4 separate regions of the Homo sapiens genome follow, and regions 1, 2 and 4 are each linked to region 3. Evidence: promoter capture Hi-C in 16 types of primary human blood cells and fetal thymus (Javierre and others, 2016). All regions are on one chromosome and are shown on one strand. The core of a region is centred on a gene start or on the middle of the fragment in contact, and the rest is flanking DNA. Distances in the headings are between cores, read along the strand shown.

The links. Contacts are between HindIII fragments. The CHiCAGO score rates a contact against its expected background, and 5 or more counts as called.
Region 1: a contact is called between the fragment with the promoter of RNF122 here and the fragment with the promoter of LONRF1 in region 3, in 4 of 17 cell types (naive CD8 T cells, non-activated CD4 T cells, total CD4 T cells and 1 more). The highest score is 9.7, in naive CD8 T cells.
Region 2: a contact is called between the fragment with the promoter of TTI2 here and the fragment with the promoter of LONRF1 in region 3, in 1 of 17 cell types (naive CD8 T cells). The highest score is 6.5, in naive CD8 T cells.
Region 4: a contact is called between the fragment with the promoter of MAK16 here and the fragment with the promoter of LONRF1 in region 3, in 5 of 17 cell types (non-activated CD4 T cells, total B cells, naive CD4 T cells and 2 more). The highest score is 17.3, in non-activated CD4 T cells.

The regions. Positions count from the first base shown.
Region 1 is chr8:33,565,430-33,568,875 of GRCh38, forward strand. RNF122 (ring finger protein 122) reads right to left here and starts at 1,699. Exons shown (of 6, transcript NM_024787.3): 1 at 1,270-1,699. The coding sequence starts at 1,294. RefSeq lists silencers at 1,074-1,123, 1,264-1,313, 1,344-1,413, 1,464-1,583. The HindIII fragment of the contact is 8,620 bases long and covers 1-2,661 here.
Region 2 is chr8:33,511,322-33,514,463 of GRCh38, forward strand. It overlaps TTI2 (TELO2 interacting protein 2), which reads right to left and starts at 1,814. Exons shown (of 8, transcript NM_001102401.4): 1 at 1,761-1,814; 2 at 646-1,391. The coding sequence starts at 1,292. SNORD13 (small nucleolar RNA, C/D box 13) reads left to right here and starts at 2,154; the gene lies at 2,154-2,257. RefSeq lists an enhancer at 1,846-1,985 and a silencer at 2,416-2,465. The HindIII fragment of the contact is 19,476 bases long and covers 1-3,142 here.
Region 3 is chr8:12,753,810-12,757,140 of GRCh38, forward strand. It overlaps LONRF1 (LON peptidase N-terminal domain and ring finger 1), which reads right to left and starts at 1,717. Exons shown (of 12, transcript NM_152271.5): 1 at 891-1,717. The coding sequence starts at 1,611. RefSeq lists silencers at 116-355, 496-1,035, 932-1,122, 1,126-1,465, 1,546-2,215 and 1 more and an enhancer at 1,191-2,010. The HindIII fragment of the contact is 11,195 bases long and covers 1-3,331 here.
Region 4 is chr8:33,483,684-33,487,187 of GRCh38, forward strand. It overlaps MAK16 (MAK16 homolog), which reads left to right and starts at 1,499. Exons shown (of 10, transcript NM_032509.4): 1 at 1,499-1,538. The coding sequence starts at 1,524. RefSeq lists enhancers at 655-1,291, 1,279-1,428 and silencers at 919-1,108, 1,319-1,506. The HindIII fragment of the contact is 3,746 bases long and covers 1-3,394 here.

The sequences.
Region 1 (3,446 bases), core at 449-2,948, about 21 Mb after region 3:
CAGCTGCTTCCCATCTCTCTCTCCCAGAAACTCTCCAAGCATCGGAACAACGCGGTCAAGACTAGGACCCCAGGAGGACTGGAGCGGGTGGGGTGGGGGGCGATTAGTATCCAAGGTTTTGAAGTGTCCCGCTCAGAAACACCTACCTTTCAGGTAGCTCGCTGAGGAATCAGACTCCAGCCTAACCCAGTATCACCTGAACCTCCAAAAAGCCTCAGGTGAAATGAACTAACTTAGAAGCATCACCCAGGCCTGGGGAGAAATGGGGCGAGGGGTTGTCGCGTCTGGAGGTGTGGCCTTCACTTGGGCTCAGGAGCAGACACCCTAATCTGGCCTTGTGGCCAGAAACACGGCTCCCGCCAGGCCAGCCTCGCACCCCAGGGACAGCCGGGCGCGGAGCTCTCTGCGAGGGTTTATCAACTCAGGAAAACGGCTTTTTTTTAGATGGAGTTTCGCTCTTGTTGCCCAGGCTGGAGTGTAATGGCACGATCTAGGCTCACTGCAATCTCCGCCTCCTGGGTTCAAGCGATTCTCCTGCCTCAGCCTCCCAAGTAGCTGGGCTTACAGGCATGCGCCACCACTCCCGGCTAATTTTGTATTTTTAGTAGAGACGGAGTTTCTCCATGTTGGTTAGGCTGGTCTCGAACTCCCGACTTCAGGTGATCCGCCCGCCTCGGCCTCCCAAAGTGCTGGGATTACAGGCGTGAGCCACCGCGCCTGGCCGAAAGCGACTCTTTAATCCAGTCTTCCGCAAGCACCCAAGCCACGCCAGCAGCCCGTGGGAAACCAACAAAGCCAGAGGAAGCTACCCCCGCGCCCAGTCCCGCACGCTGCACGGTATACATATTTACAATAGCCTGCAAAGTTTCAGGCCGGGAACTTGAGCTCCCTCTAGGAGATCCCAGCCCGAGTGCGGATTTAATTCTCCTCCAACAACCACAACAAAGAACAGAGTTTGAGCGCACAAAGGCAGGGGAAGGGGGTAGAAGAGCCGGGCCGCCACACAAAGGCCGGGAACCCCTCGGCTCCCACGCCCCCGGCCCGCCGCCAGTCCGGAGGCCCCTTCCAGGCTCTGGAGTGAAACCTGGATAGTTTCAAATTCCGCGCTGTGCAGAGCAGAGTGGGGCGCCAAGACGCCTTCTCGACTGTCCCATTTCAGGAGAAACTTGGTTCCCGAGGGAGGACCAGCGCGCTGCTGTCCGACCTCGCACCCCGCGCCGCGGCTCCCACCAGCCCCACGTAGGCTCGGCCCTCGCCCCGGGGACTCACCGTTACACCACTGGAATGGGTGCATCAATGAAGTCGCGGTTGGCTTCCTCGGGCGAACGGACGCAGGCGGGGTGCCAGGAGGGCGGGGTGGGAGCACTAGCGGCGTGAGGGGCCGCAGGCGGGGTCGGGGCAGCGCGCTGCAGCCGCCCTGCTGGAGAAGCCGAACTCCCTCCGGAGTGGGGGGCTTTGACGAGGCTGGTGTTCAGCCCAACAAAGAGGGACGAGGAGGAAACAAACAAAGTCCCGCGGAGCACAGCCGCACGGAGCGCACGCGCCAAGGGCCCCGGGCTGGGGGAATGTGGGGCGCCGCGGGGCGGGGGTGCCCGGGCTGCAGAAGCCCTCGGCCGGGGGAGGAGGGAAAAACCTTTGCCGGAGGCTCGGATCGGGTTCAGCGGCGCAGAGGTGAGCTGGCTGGGGTTCCGAAACTGACACCCGGCGGTGCACACCCCCTCCCTTTTACTTCCCCCACCAGTCCCCAGGAAAACTCCGCCCCTTGTTCGTCACCCTCCCTCCGACCAATCGGAGCCTTTCTCCTGCCCCCGGCTATTATTTGCAGGCCCAGCCTCCCTTCCCTGGAAGCCGGGAGGATCTTCGCACGGTGGGCGCCTCCCACTTAGTCTTCCCAGGCCTGGGGAAACTTCGGTCTGCAGAGAATGGAGCGGCGACGAGCGATGCCCCGGAGTGGGGGCCTGCCTTTTGCCCAGGGACACCAAGGCAAAGGAACAATTACTGCCACATTGTTTTCCGCCTACAGATCTGTTATTTATTTACTTATGTATTTGGAGGCAGAGTCTGCCTCTATCGCCAAGGCTGGAGTGCAGCGGCGCGATCTCAGCTCACTGCAACCTCTGCCTCTCGGGTTCAGGTGATTCTCCTGCCTCAGCCTCCTGAGTAGCTGGGATTACAGGCGCTTACCACCATGCCCAGATAATTTTTGTATTTTTAATAGCGACGGGGTTTCGCCATGTTGGACAGGCTGTTCTCGAACTCCTGGCCTCAAGTGATCCTCCTGCTTCAGCCTTCCAAAGTGCTGGGATTATAGGCGTGAGCCACCGCTCCCGGCCCTCTTTTTCTTTTTTGAGTTAGAGTCTTGCTCTGTCACTCAGCTGGAGTGCAGCGGTGCAATAATAGCTTACTGCAGCCTCCAACTTCTGGGCCCAAGCAGTCCTGCCACCTTAGCCTCCCAAGAAACTGGGACCACAGGTGCCTGCCACCAAGCCCAGCTACTTTTTAATTGTTTTGTATAGATGAGTGGCCTCACTATGTTGCTCAGGCTGGTCTCGAACTCCTGGACTCAAGTGATCCTCCCGCCTGAGCCTCCCAGATTGCTGGGATTACAGGCATGAGCCATGGCACCCAGGACATTTCATTTCTTAATTGGATAATTGCAAAAGCTTCCTAACTGGCCATTCTGATTCTAGTCTATAGCTCAGACTTCAGAGCCTACAAGAATCACTCCTATGTTTGAGATGTAACATGCAGATTCCCAGGCCTTGAACCCAGAGATTCTGATTCAATAAAGGGTGGACCCAGAAATTTTCATTTTAATGTGCCTTGTCTTCCCCACCCCTCAAATTCTCATGCGGCTATTGAAAGAAACAGTGCTCTGATTTCACTCTCAAGTCCATCCCTTCTGGTCACAATTATCTCTGTAAAATGTAAATCTGAACATTTCTTTGCTTGATAACGTTTGTTGGTCTCCAGTGTTTACTGAATAAAGTTCTGTAAACTAGAGTGTGGCATTCAAAATGTTTCAGTCTAGACTCACTCCTATAATCTCAAAACTTCGGGAGGCTGAGGCGGGCAGATTGCTTGAGCTCAAGAGTTTGAGACCATCCTGGGCAACATGGTGAAGCCACCTGTAAAAAAAATACAAAAATTAGCTGGGCCTGGTGGTGCGCACCTGCGGTCCCAGCTACTCTGGTGGCTGAGGTGGGAGAATCACTGGAGTTCGAGAAGTCGAGGATGCAGCTGCAGTGAGCTGTGATTGTGCCACTGCACTCCAGCCTGGGCGACAGAATGAGACTACTCTGTTTCAAAAAGAAAAAAGAAAAAACTATTAAAATAAAGTGTTTCAGTCTAGCCTTATTTGTTTCAGTCTTCCTCATACTCAAATACTCCCCTTCACCACACACTATTCATCAGCCATGAAGCTTTTTGTTGTTACTCTTCCTTGA
Region 2 (3,142 bases), core at 564-3,063, about 21 Mb after region 3:
AGTGAGCCACCTCGCCCGGCCACATTTTGTAATTATTAACTCCAAGTAAGTGGGACAGAATTTCCAATTTTCCTAGGCAGTCGTCCTAAGGGCTGGAAAGAGCATTGGACAACTGAGCCCGAACATCTCAGTTATGACCTCCAATTTGCCACTATCCAGTTATGTCATTTATAGCAAATCACAACGTTTCTGGGCCTTAAGAGATCCGTGGTTACAGCACCCTTATTTTACTGCTGAAGAAATTGAGCTTCCTTTGAGGTATAACGCTATAAAAAATTAAGCTAGGGCAGGCGCAGTGGCTCACGCCTGTAATCCCAGCATTTTGGGAGCCCGAGGCGGGTGGATCACTTGAGGTCAAGAGTTCAAGACCAGCCTGGCCAACATGGTGAAACCCCGTCTCTACTAAAAATACAAAAAATCAGCCAGGCGTGGTGACGGGCAACTGTAATCCCAGCTACTCCGAAGGCTGACACAGGAGAATCGCTTGAACCCAGGAGGCGGAGGTTGCAGTGAGCTGAGATCGCAACATTGCACTCCACCCTGGGCAACAAGAGTGAAACTCTGTCTCGAAAATAAATAAATAATAAAAAATAAAAATAAAAAACTGTGAGGCTCAAGTCGGTGGCAAAGGGCAGGAGTACTCACTTATACAAGTCGGGTTTGAGAAGCCCTAGTATCACCGAAAGTCTCCCTTTCTCATCTTCATTTTCTCCATGTAGGAATCCTGCCACAGAACCGCATTCAGTAACTTGAAGCAGTGAGGTGAGCACCTCCCTAGCAACTTCCCGAGATCTCGGAGTGGTCCATGGTTGCTCCAAGCTGTGTGTGATGGCAAAAATATAAACGGGTCCTGCCAAGTGATGCAGGCCCGTCTGCCATGCAGGGCCGACCAGGGAATTCTTAGCAGTCTCAACTTTCCCTAACAGTTTAAGAAACAGTAACCCAACTTGGGCTGCTTTCTCGGCCGCTTCGGAGTGCCCATCACCTCCACCTTCCTCCTCCTTGGAGGGGGCTGCATACTTCTCCAGGGCTTTTGCTACCTGCCCCAGTGTCTCCGGCATTCCGCGGAGCCGTGCACCAGTCCCCTCAAATAACCTATCAAATTCTGTGGCTTCTATTAGATCACCGAGGTCTTTAAGAACTGCATCTTTTACATTGCCTCGTCGTGCCTCCGGGCGGGCAAGACAGTGTAAAATCTTGGAGAAGGCCTGTCCAAAGGCGGAGTGAGACAACTCCTCGGACAAATTAGAGTCTTCCTGCGATGGGGCTTCCAGAGCGCTGTCAAGCTCCATTCCTGACTGCAGCACCAGAAGGCTGGTCTCTCCCACAGAACGAGGATGGAGGCGGGGAGGGATCCGTTGAAGAGGGAAGGAGCGATCACCCAAAGAGAACTAAAATCAAATAAAATAAAACAGAGAGATGTCTTGGAGGAGGGGGCGAGTCTGACCGGGATAAGAATAAAGAGAAAGGGTGAACCCGGGAGGCGGAGTTTGCAGTGAGCCGAGATCGCGCCACTGCACTCCAGCCTGGGCGACAGAGTGAGACTCCGTCTCAGTAAAAAAAAAAAAAAAAAAAAGAATAAAGAGGAAAGGACGCAAGAAAGGGAAAGGGGACTCTCAGGGAGTAAAAGAGTCTTACACTTTTAACAGTGACGTTAAAAGACTACTGTTGCCTTTCTGAAGACTAAAAAGAAAAAAAACTTAAAAATTTAAAGAAATAAACTTCTGAGCCATGTCACCAACTTAACCACCCCCAGGTACCTGCAACGGCTCGCGCCCGCCGGTGTCTAACAGGATCCGGACCTAGCTCATATTGCTGCCGCAAAACGCAAGGCTAGCTTCCGCCAGTACTGCCGCAACACCTTCTTATTTCACGACGTATGGTCGTAAAGCAATAAAGATCCAGGCTCGGGAAAATGACGGAGAGGTGGAACTATAGAGAATAAATTTGCATATATAATAATCCGCTCGCTAATTGTGTTTCTGTTTTCCTTTGCTAAGGTAGAAACAAAAGAATAATCACAGAATCTCAGTGGGACTTTGAAAATATCCAGGATTTTATACGTGAAGAATGGATGTATCGCATTACGGTAGTCACCCTATGTGTAAATTAGTGGCACATACTTGGCACTCCTTAATGTCAACTATAAGATGATCCTTTTGTAGTTCATGAGCGTGATGATTGGGTGTTCATACGCTTGTGTGAGATGTGCCACCCTTGAACCTTGTTACGACGTGGGCACATTACCCGTCTGACCTGAACTTCAAGGATCGATTTAACACTTGTATTTGTGGGCTTGTTACTTATGATAACAGGTGGCCTAGTTTCATGGCTTTGTGTTTACCGTTTTCGGGTGCCCTTTTTTCTGGCTGTATGCTACACGCACGGGTGCTTTTCCGTTGTCCAACTGTGTAATGTGTTTTTGTGTTTGTTCTTTTGTGAGTCGGAGTCTCGCGTTGTCGCCAGGCTGGAGTTGCAGTGTTGCGATCTCGGCTCACTGCAACCCCCACCTCCGGTTTTCGAGAGATTGTCCTACCTCAGCCTCCCGAGTAGCTGGGACTATAGGCGCGCGCCACCACGCCCAGCTAATTTTTGTATAAATATTGGCAAGGATGGTCTCGATCTCTTGACCTCGTGATGCGCCCGCCTCGGCCTCCCAAAGGGCTGGGATTACAGGCGTGAGCCACCGCGCCTGGCCAATGCAGAGCTTTTTAATGGCTTTAATTTTTTAGGTTTGGGAGATACCTGCGCAGGTTTGTTACCTGGATATGTTGTGGGATGCTGGGATTTGGAGTGCAGCTTAGCCCGTTTTCATTGCCCCCTCTAGTAGACCACAGTGTCTGTTGTTGCCACTTTTATGTCCACGTGTTCCTAATGTTTAGCTCCCACTTATGAATGAGAGCATGCGGTATTTGGTTTTCTGTTCAATGCAATACTTTAGCTGGTTTCTGGAGCTAGCGTTTTAAAGCCTGTAGCCACAAGCGTTTGAAAATTCAAATTCTAGCGTCAAGGTAGAAGCCCCCAGCTGGCGTCTGGGGCAGCCCTGAGGGAGGTGGGTCGTCGGGTTGGCGGATCCGGCTTGGGCCCGCCCCGCCAGTGTCGGCGCCGGGTGCGCAGGGACAGCAGAGCGCTGTCTTGGGCA
Region 3 (3,331 bases), core at 467-2,966:
ACTCAAGACCTATAAGGCCTTTCCCCACAGCCTGATCCTAAGTGGAAAGGCCAGGAGAAGCGTGGCAGAGAACTATGGATCAGGCAGCCCCTCTCATCTTTACCATAAGCTAGGTGCACTGCAAAGTACATAGGAAATAAGCAGGATCTGAAACAGGCCAGCTGAAACTTTCAAGAGGAACCAGTTCAGGCATTTCCAGGTAGCAAGGGACCACCCTGGGCAGCTCCGCCCCAAGCCCCAAGCCCGGCGGCCTGCAGGGCCTCCCGGGGCCGGGCGCCCGCGCGGAGCTCCCGCCACGCCCACCGGACGTCACCCGTTACACAACGCCCCCCGCCCCCAGCTTATGCAATTCTGCCCTCCCGCGGTTCCCAATTGTCCCGGTGACTTTTGTGGGTGAGGAAGGGAGACGCCGCCTGCCCGGCCTAGTTGCCCTCGCGGGGGATTCTCTCCCCGCCCCGGCAGTCGTTTCCCCGCGGCGGGCCCGGCCCGAGAGCCAATTCCCGGAAAGCGCGCGGCAGGAAGCGAGCGGCCGCTCGGGATAGCCCAGCTACCACCCATCCCGCGCCGGGGCGGCCTCGGTCCAGGTCACCCACTCCGCGCCGGGAGCGCGCGCCCGACAGCCAGGCCGCGGCCGAGGGAACCCCGCGCCGAGCGCCCCTCCCCGCGCCGCGTCACAGTCGGCTCCCAGGGCGATCCCCATTATGACCGAAGCACCCCGGGGCGCCGCCCCCTCCCACACCCCCCAGCACCCCGAGACCCGACACGCCAGCGGCCCAGCGGCCCCGGGGAAGCAGAGGAGACTCTCGGGGCGCAGACAAGCTCCGGGTCCCCGGCCCTCGGGGCCAGGAGGGTGCGGTCGGCCCGGCCCCGCCGCATCCCCGCGCGGTCACCTGCTCGCAGCGCCTCGCAGGCGGCGGCCAGGGCCTCCCGGTAGCGCCCCTGGTGCAGTAGCTCCCCGAGCCTGCCGGCCGCCCGGGCCCGCTCGCGCTGGCCCGGAAACCACTTCTCGGCCAGGTGGTTGAGGACGACGCTGGTTCTGAAGTCTGAAGCGGCGATGGCGGCGGCCAGAGGCGGCGGCCGCGGGGCGGTCCCTTCAGCATCAGTGGCACTGGCGGTGGCGGGCGGCAGCCGGTCCCGGCAGAGGCGGCAGCGGGCGCGGAGTTCCCTCCGCAGGCAGCGGCGGCAGTAGCTGTGGCCACAGGGCACGGTCACCGGCTCGCTCAGGAAGCCCCGGCAGCCCAGGCATCTGAGGAGCCCGCCGGCGCCGCCGTCAGCGCCTGCAACCGGGGCCGCGCTCCAGCCCAGCCCGTGGCGGAGCCGGTAGTTGAACACCAGGCAGTCCACCAGGGCGCCCAGGCACTCGGGCCTGGCCGGGGCCCCGCGGCGCAGCGCCGCCGCGAACGCCTCCAGCGCGCCCTTCAGGTGGCCGCCCAGCGCCAGCAGCTCCCCGCGGCGGAGCAGCAGCTCCCAGCGCTCCGACTCCGCGGCCGCGCGCTCCAGCCGATGGCCGCTGCCGCCGCCCACTTCCCAGAACCGGCCTCGGCCCTGCGGCGCTGGGGCCATCTCCCGACTCCCTCCTGGGGAGGTCCTCGCCACCGCCGGAGAGGACATGGCCCGCGGAGGGCTGCGCCGCCGCCGCCCGCCGCCACGGTCCCGGAGCCTCCCGGGCGCGCGGCTCCGCACGCGGCCCGCGAGCAGGGGGGCGTGGCGCGCGGACACGGCGGGGCTGCGCGCGCCCGGGAAGCCCCGAGGGCGGGGCCTGGCGAGGGCGGGGCCGGGCTCGGCGACGGCGCCCGGGACTCCCCCACGCCGCCCGCGGCCGCGCTCCCGAGGAGCCAAGCGCTGGGCCCCGCCCCTTCCGAGCCCCCTCCGGGTGGGGGACGCAGGTCGGATGATTCCTCCGTCGGAGATCTAATTGGCTTCTCCGGAAAGGAGGGCTCGGCTCGTGACGGAACAAAGCCGGAAGGACCCCGGAGCTTCAGTCCCCGCTTGCCTGTCTGCCAACGCCGCCACCTGCGGTGGCCCTCGCCCCTGCCGGGGGTTGGGGGACGCTCCCCTGCCGCGCGGGACTCCGGGTCACCACCCCTCCCCCGACGCCCCCGCCCAGGCCGGACCTGCCCCAACTCCTGGCGGGCGGGGGTCTCCCCGCGTGGCCTCGCGCTTGTGCGGGTCTGCATTTTCATAGCTCTACGCCCATGTTCCAGGTGGGCGCGCCCAAGCAGGGGGCCTGGGAGCGCACCTTCGGCAGATGACTGGGACTCTTCGGTTCTAGAGGACTCAACTTTAAATATGAACAAAAAACCCACGTTCCTGGGGCGACTCCCTCCAGAGGGCAAGGAGTTTTTCCTGGTGCCAGGTGACTGCTTGCCCGTCTTGCTTAAAACTCATCGTGGGCCCACCTCGAGGGAGAAAGCCCACAGCTTCCTCAGGTGTCTCCACACCTCAAGCACTGCCTTACAGCTGGTTAAGGTCTATATTTGGCAGTTTTAAAAGAAAACACCAAGAAACATGTTTCACATGGCGGTCACCGTATTACTACAACCCAAGCTGGCTCTGCAGTTTTGCTGACAGAAGAAAATGATCGGGTTGATATATAATGGGTGCTATTTCCCTTAAACTTCACAGCAGCAAGTTTAAAGCTCTCAGCTGAAAATACAGATTTGATGATAGGGTATTAGATCGCTAATGTTGGAAGTCACTTAGGACTTTTAGTCCTTTTTCAAATGATTGGAAACACAGGGAAAGTTATTTGTCAAAAATCACACAGCTAATACAGATTTTAAGATCACGTCTATTCCACTACTACTACGTTAGACTAATATGTAATATTTAATAAAATATGTAATATTTCATAGAAATATATGAGATTTTCAAAGTAAAAGAAGTTGCTAATTGGAAAGTTCACCTGAGCATGCTATGTATGAAATTGGTAAACGTTTAATATTTCTCTTTATAAGGAACAGGCAATTAAGGCTAAAAAATGTTTTGAGTTCATGTGTTTTCACTACACAATCAACAAGTCGTGTAACGTCAGAAAAGACAGAGTTATATTACCCTAAAGGGAATGAATAAAAAAGAGGTGCCTGAGAAAAAGCCAAGCCTCCTGTTCCAACAGGATGCAGACAGAAACAAGTTCATTTATCACTCACATTGCACCTGAAGCAAATTGCAGCTAGATCCAAGGAGCACCTCCTAAGCATTTGGCATGGGAAGCATTGGGATTAAGTCATGAGCATAACCTTAAATCCAATCCTAACCCCTAAATTACTACCTTAACAAGCAGAACAGTGACTTTCAGCTGATGTCCACATACTCCCTTGAGACTTGAAAT
Region 4 (3,504 bases), core at 249-2,748, about 21 Mb after region 3:
ATGCTGATTACAGGCGTGAGCCACCAAGCCCAGCCTATTTATTGATTATATGCTAAACACGGAGCGGATTACTTACGCCTCTCCTTTTTAGACCATATAGAGTAATTTCCTGATGTTGCCATGGCATTTGTGGCGCCAGTGGGAGTGTAGCAGTGAGGACGACCAGAGGTCAAACTCATTGCCATCTTGGTTTTGTGGGTCTTGACTGGCTTCTTTACTGCAATCTGTTTTATCAGCAACATCCTTATGACCTGTATTTTGTGCTGACCTCATCCTGTGATTTAGATGGCCTGACCCTCGGGAATGCAGCCTAGCAGATCTCAGCCTTATTTTACCCAGCCACTATTCAAGATGGGGTTGCTCTGGTTCAAATGCCTCTTGACAGTCTTTCTTTCCTTTTCTTTTTTCTTTTTCTTTTTTTTTTTTTGAGAGGTAGTTTTGGTTGTCACCCAGGCTGGAGGGCCACAGCATGATCTCGGCTCACTGCAACCTCCGCCTCCCGGGTTCAAGCGATTCTCCTGCCTCAGCCTCCCAAGTAGCTGGGATTACAGGCACCTGCTACCACGCCCGACTAATTTTTGTATTTTTAGTAGAGACGGGATTTCACTATGTTGGCCAGGCTGGTCTGGAACTCGCCCGCCTAGGCCGCCCAAAGTGCTGAGGTACAGGCGAGAGCCACCGCGCCCGGCCCGGCCGACAGTCTTTCTTCTATAATACGATACAAACTAGTAAAGATTTTCTTTTTCCCCTGGCGGAAAAGAGCTGTTAGGCTTCCAGATTTGTTTTTGTGGGTTATTAGACCTCTACTTTTCTTCTTGGTATTTTCCCTCCCTTATCAACTTTGTTTGTTGTCTCAAATAGGCAATGAGGAAGACACAGGTGTTTATTATTATTGGAATGCTCTTTCCATTTGGTCAGTGGTTTCTCAAAGCAGGAGGAATTCAAGTTCTGAGTTTCTAAAGTCAGGACCCGGTGCCGCACCCAACGTGGGCGTGGGGAGTGGCTAAGTCAGGGTCTGAGGGGCAGGGCCGGGGCCTGGCTGCGAGCTGGGGCCGGGGGACTCGGAGGAGCGGGGACCCAGCCCCGCCGCGCCGCCTGCAGCTTTCCCCAGCCTCCTCCCAGCAGAGGGGAGGCCCGACAGGGAGGGGTCCCATCCTCATGAACGGTCACAAACAGGGCGCTAGGGAAGCACGCCCGACCCCCGCGGTCCCCGCGCTCCAGGATTCGGCAGACTGCGCGCGTCCTGCCTCCCGCGGATCGCACTGGGTCCCAACAGGGTTCCCAGCTCCAGGCTGCGCCCATGAACAAGCCCAGCATTGCGGACGGGCGCGCGCAGACGCCAGCGTGGTGAAGACGCGGGGGCGCGCGCGCGGCGACGAGACTGCCAGGGGACGCTTCGCAACACCGAGAGTCTCAGCGTTTCTCGAGATAGGTGAGGCTGCGCGTTCCGGAACTGGTTTCCCGGAAGGAGCATGTCTGCGCCCGCGATCCGACCGGAAGTTGCACGCTGAGCCGCGGACACCATGCAGTCGGATGATGTGAGTCTCCTCCGGTTGTTCTTACACCCGGGGTTTGCGCAGGGAATTTTGCCCATTTTCGGACACTTAGAAAACGCGTACGCAGCGGGTCTGTTGCCTCGTGCCGCTCTGGATGTGAGGCTTCCGGAACCCCGATTTTCCAACATAGGTTCTCACGCGTGTCTAGCAGGGGTTTACTGCCCGCTGCCCCGGCCGGGTTGTGAGCACAGGACTCCGTCACCTCAGCCCATGGGGTCGATGTGTCCCGTCCTTCGTGCCTACCAATGCAGGACGTCGCGTCATGCTGTCAGCTGTCAGCTGTCAGCTCCGGACTTGGGGTGGGGGGCGGCCCGGGATTTGGCGAAGCTGACTCCAAGTTTAAGCGTCCTTCTCATCCATGTGCGCGTTACTCTTCCATCTGCGTTTCCTGTGTAGGCTTTTCTTTACATTTGCTCTACTTCTGCCTAAGTCATAATTTCGGAAGTATCCTAGATTCATTCATTGAGTTTTTTGTTGGAGAAATAACAGTGTGCTTACAGTGTGCCAGGCATTGTGGTAATTATTGAGGATTTGGTTAACCAGAAAAAATGTCCCACCTCTCCTGGAACACTGATGGGGGAGACACAGTAAACAAGTGAACAAATAAGTTAACAATTACACTATATAATCATACTATGAAAGAAAGACCAGAGATGATGAAGGACACTTCAGATAGGGTTACTCAGGGAAGGTTTCTCTGAACAGAAGATGTTTGAGTTGAGATCTAAAAGATAAGAATAAGCCAGTCACTGAGGAGCTGAGGAAAAAGCAATCCAGGCAGTAGGAACAGTAAAGTACAAAGAGTTGAAGATATGAGAGAATGAATATAAGGGTCATCAAAGTGACAATGTAAGACAGGTAATGAAATTAGATATGCTTGCCAGGGCGAGGTCATGCAGAATCTTGTAGGAAGTGTTTTTTAGGCCTTTTAATGATCTATGTTTGTGAAAAGTTGTCTAGTTGCTGTGTGAAGGACTTTTGGAGGGAAAAAATGAAAGCAAGGAGACTAGGGTATGACAAAGGTTGCTTCAAGCCAGACACAGTGGCTCATGCCTGTAATCCCAACGCTTTGGGAGGCTGGGGCTGGAGGATCGCTTGAGGCCAGGAGTTCGATTCCAGCCTAGGCAATAAAGTGAGACTCCATCTCTACAAAAAATAAAAAATTAGCTGGGCGCGGTGGTGTTCGCCTGAGGTCCCAGTTACTTCGAAGGCTGAGGCAGAAGGACTACTTGAGCCGAAAAGTCCGAGGCTGCAGTGAGCTATGATGGCACCACTGCACTCCAGCCTGGGTGACAGAGAGACCCTATCTCTAAAGTAAATAAATTTTTTTAAAAACGAAAGTGGCTTCGCCTAAGGTAGTAATTTAATGGTGGAGATGAAAAGAAATTGATGAATTTGAGACCTTTTACGTCAGTATAATTGACAAGACTTTGGTGATGGATTAAGTGAAGAAGAAAAGGAAGAAATCAAAGGATTTGGGATATAAATACATAGTTAAATGGTGATTTTATTTATTGAAGTGGGGGAACTCTAGGGAAGACTGTTCTTACGAGGGATGTGGAATTGAGAACTCCTTGTGGATATGTTAATATTTATGTTGCCTTTTAGATATTGAAGAGATGTCATATAAAAATCTGGTGCTCAGGAAAGAAGTCTGACCAGAAAATAACAATTTAGGAGTCATCCATTTAGAGATGATACTTAAAGCCACAAGCCTAAAAGAGCTCCCTTATTCTTCTTACCTGTTTCCTACCATCCCCCACCAGACACACCTATAAAATTCTTAAAGTGTGTTTTATTCTTTTGCCCTCTTCATATTTTTCCTTTAACAGTGGTAAAGCTTTTTTTTACCCCAGTTCCTCAAGGCAGCGCACTCAAAGGCTGTCATACTCTTACGCATGCTATGTGGCCTTTAGACCTGCTATTTTGTGATACTTTGTTTACATAT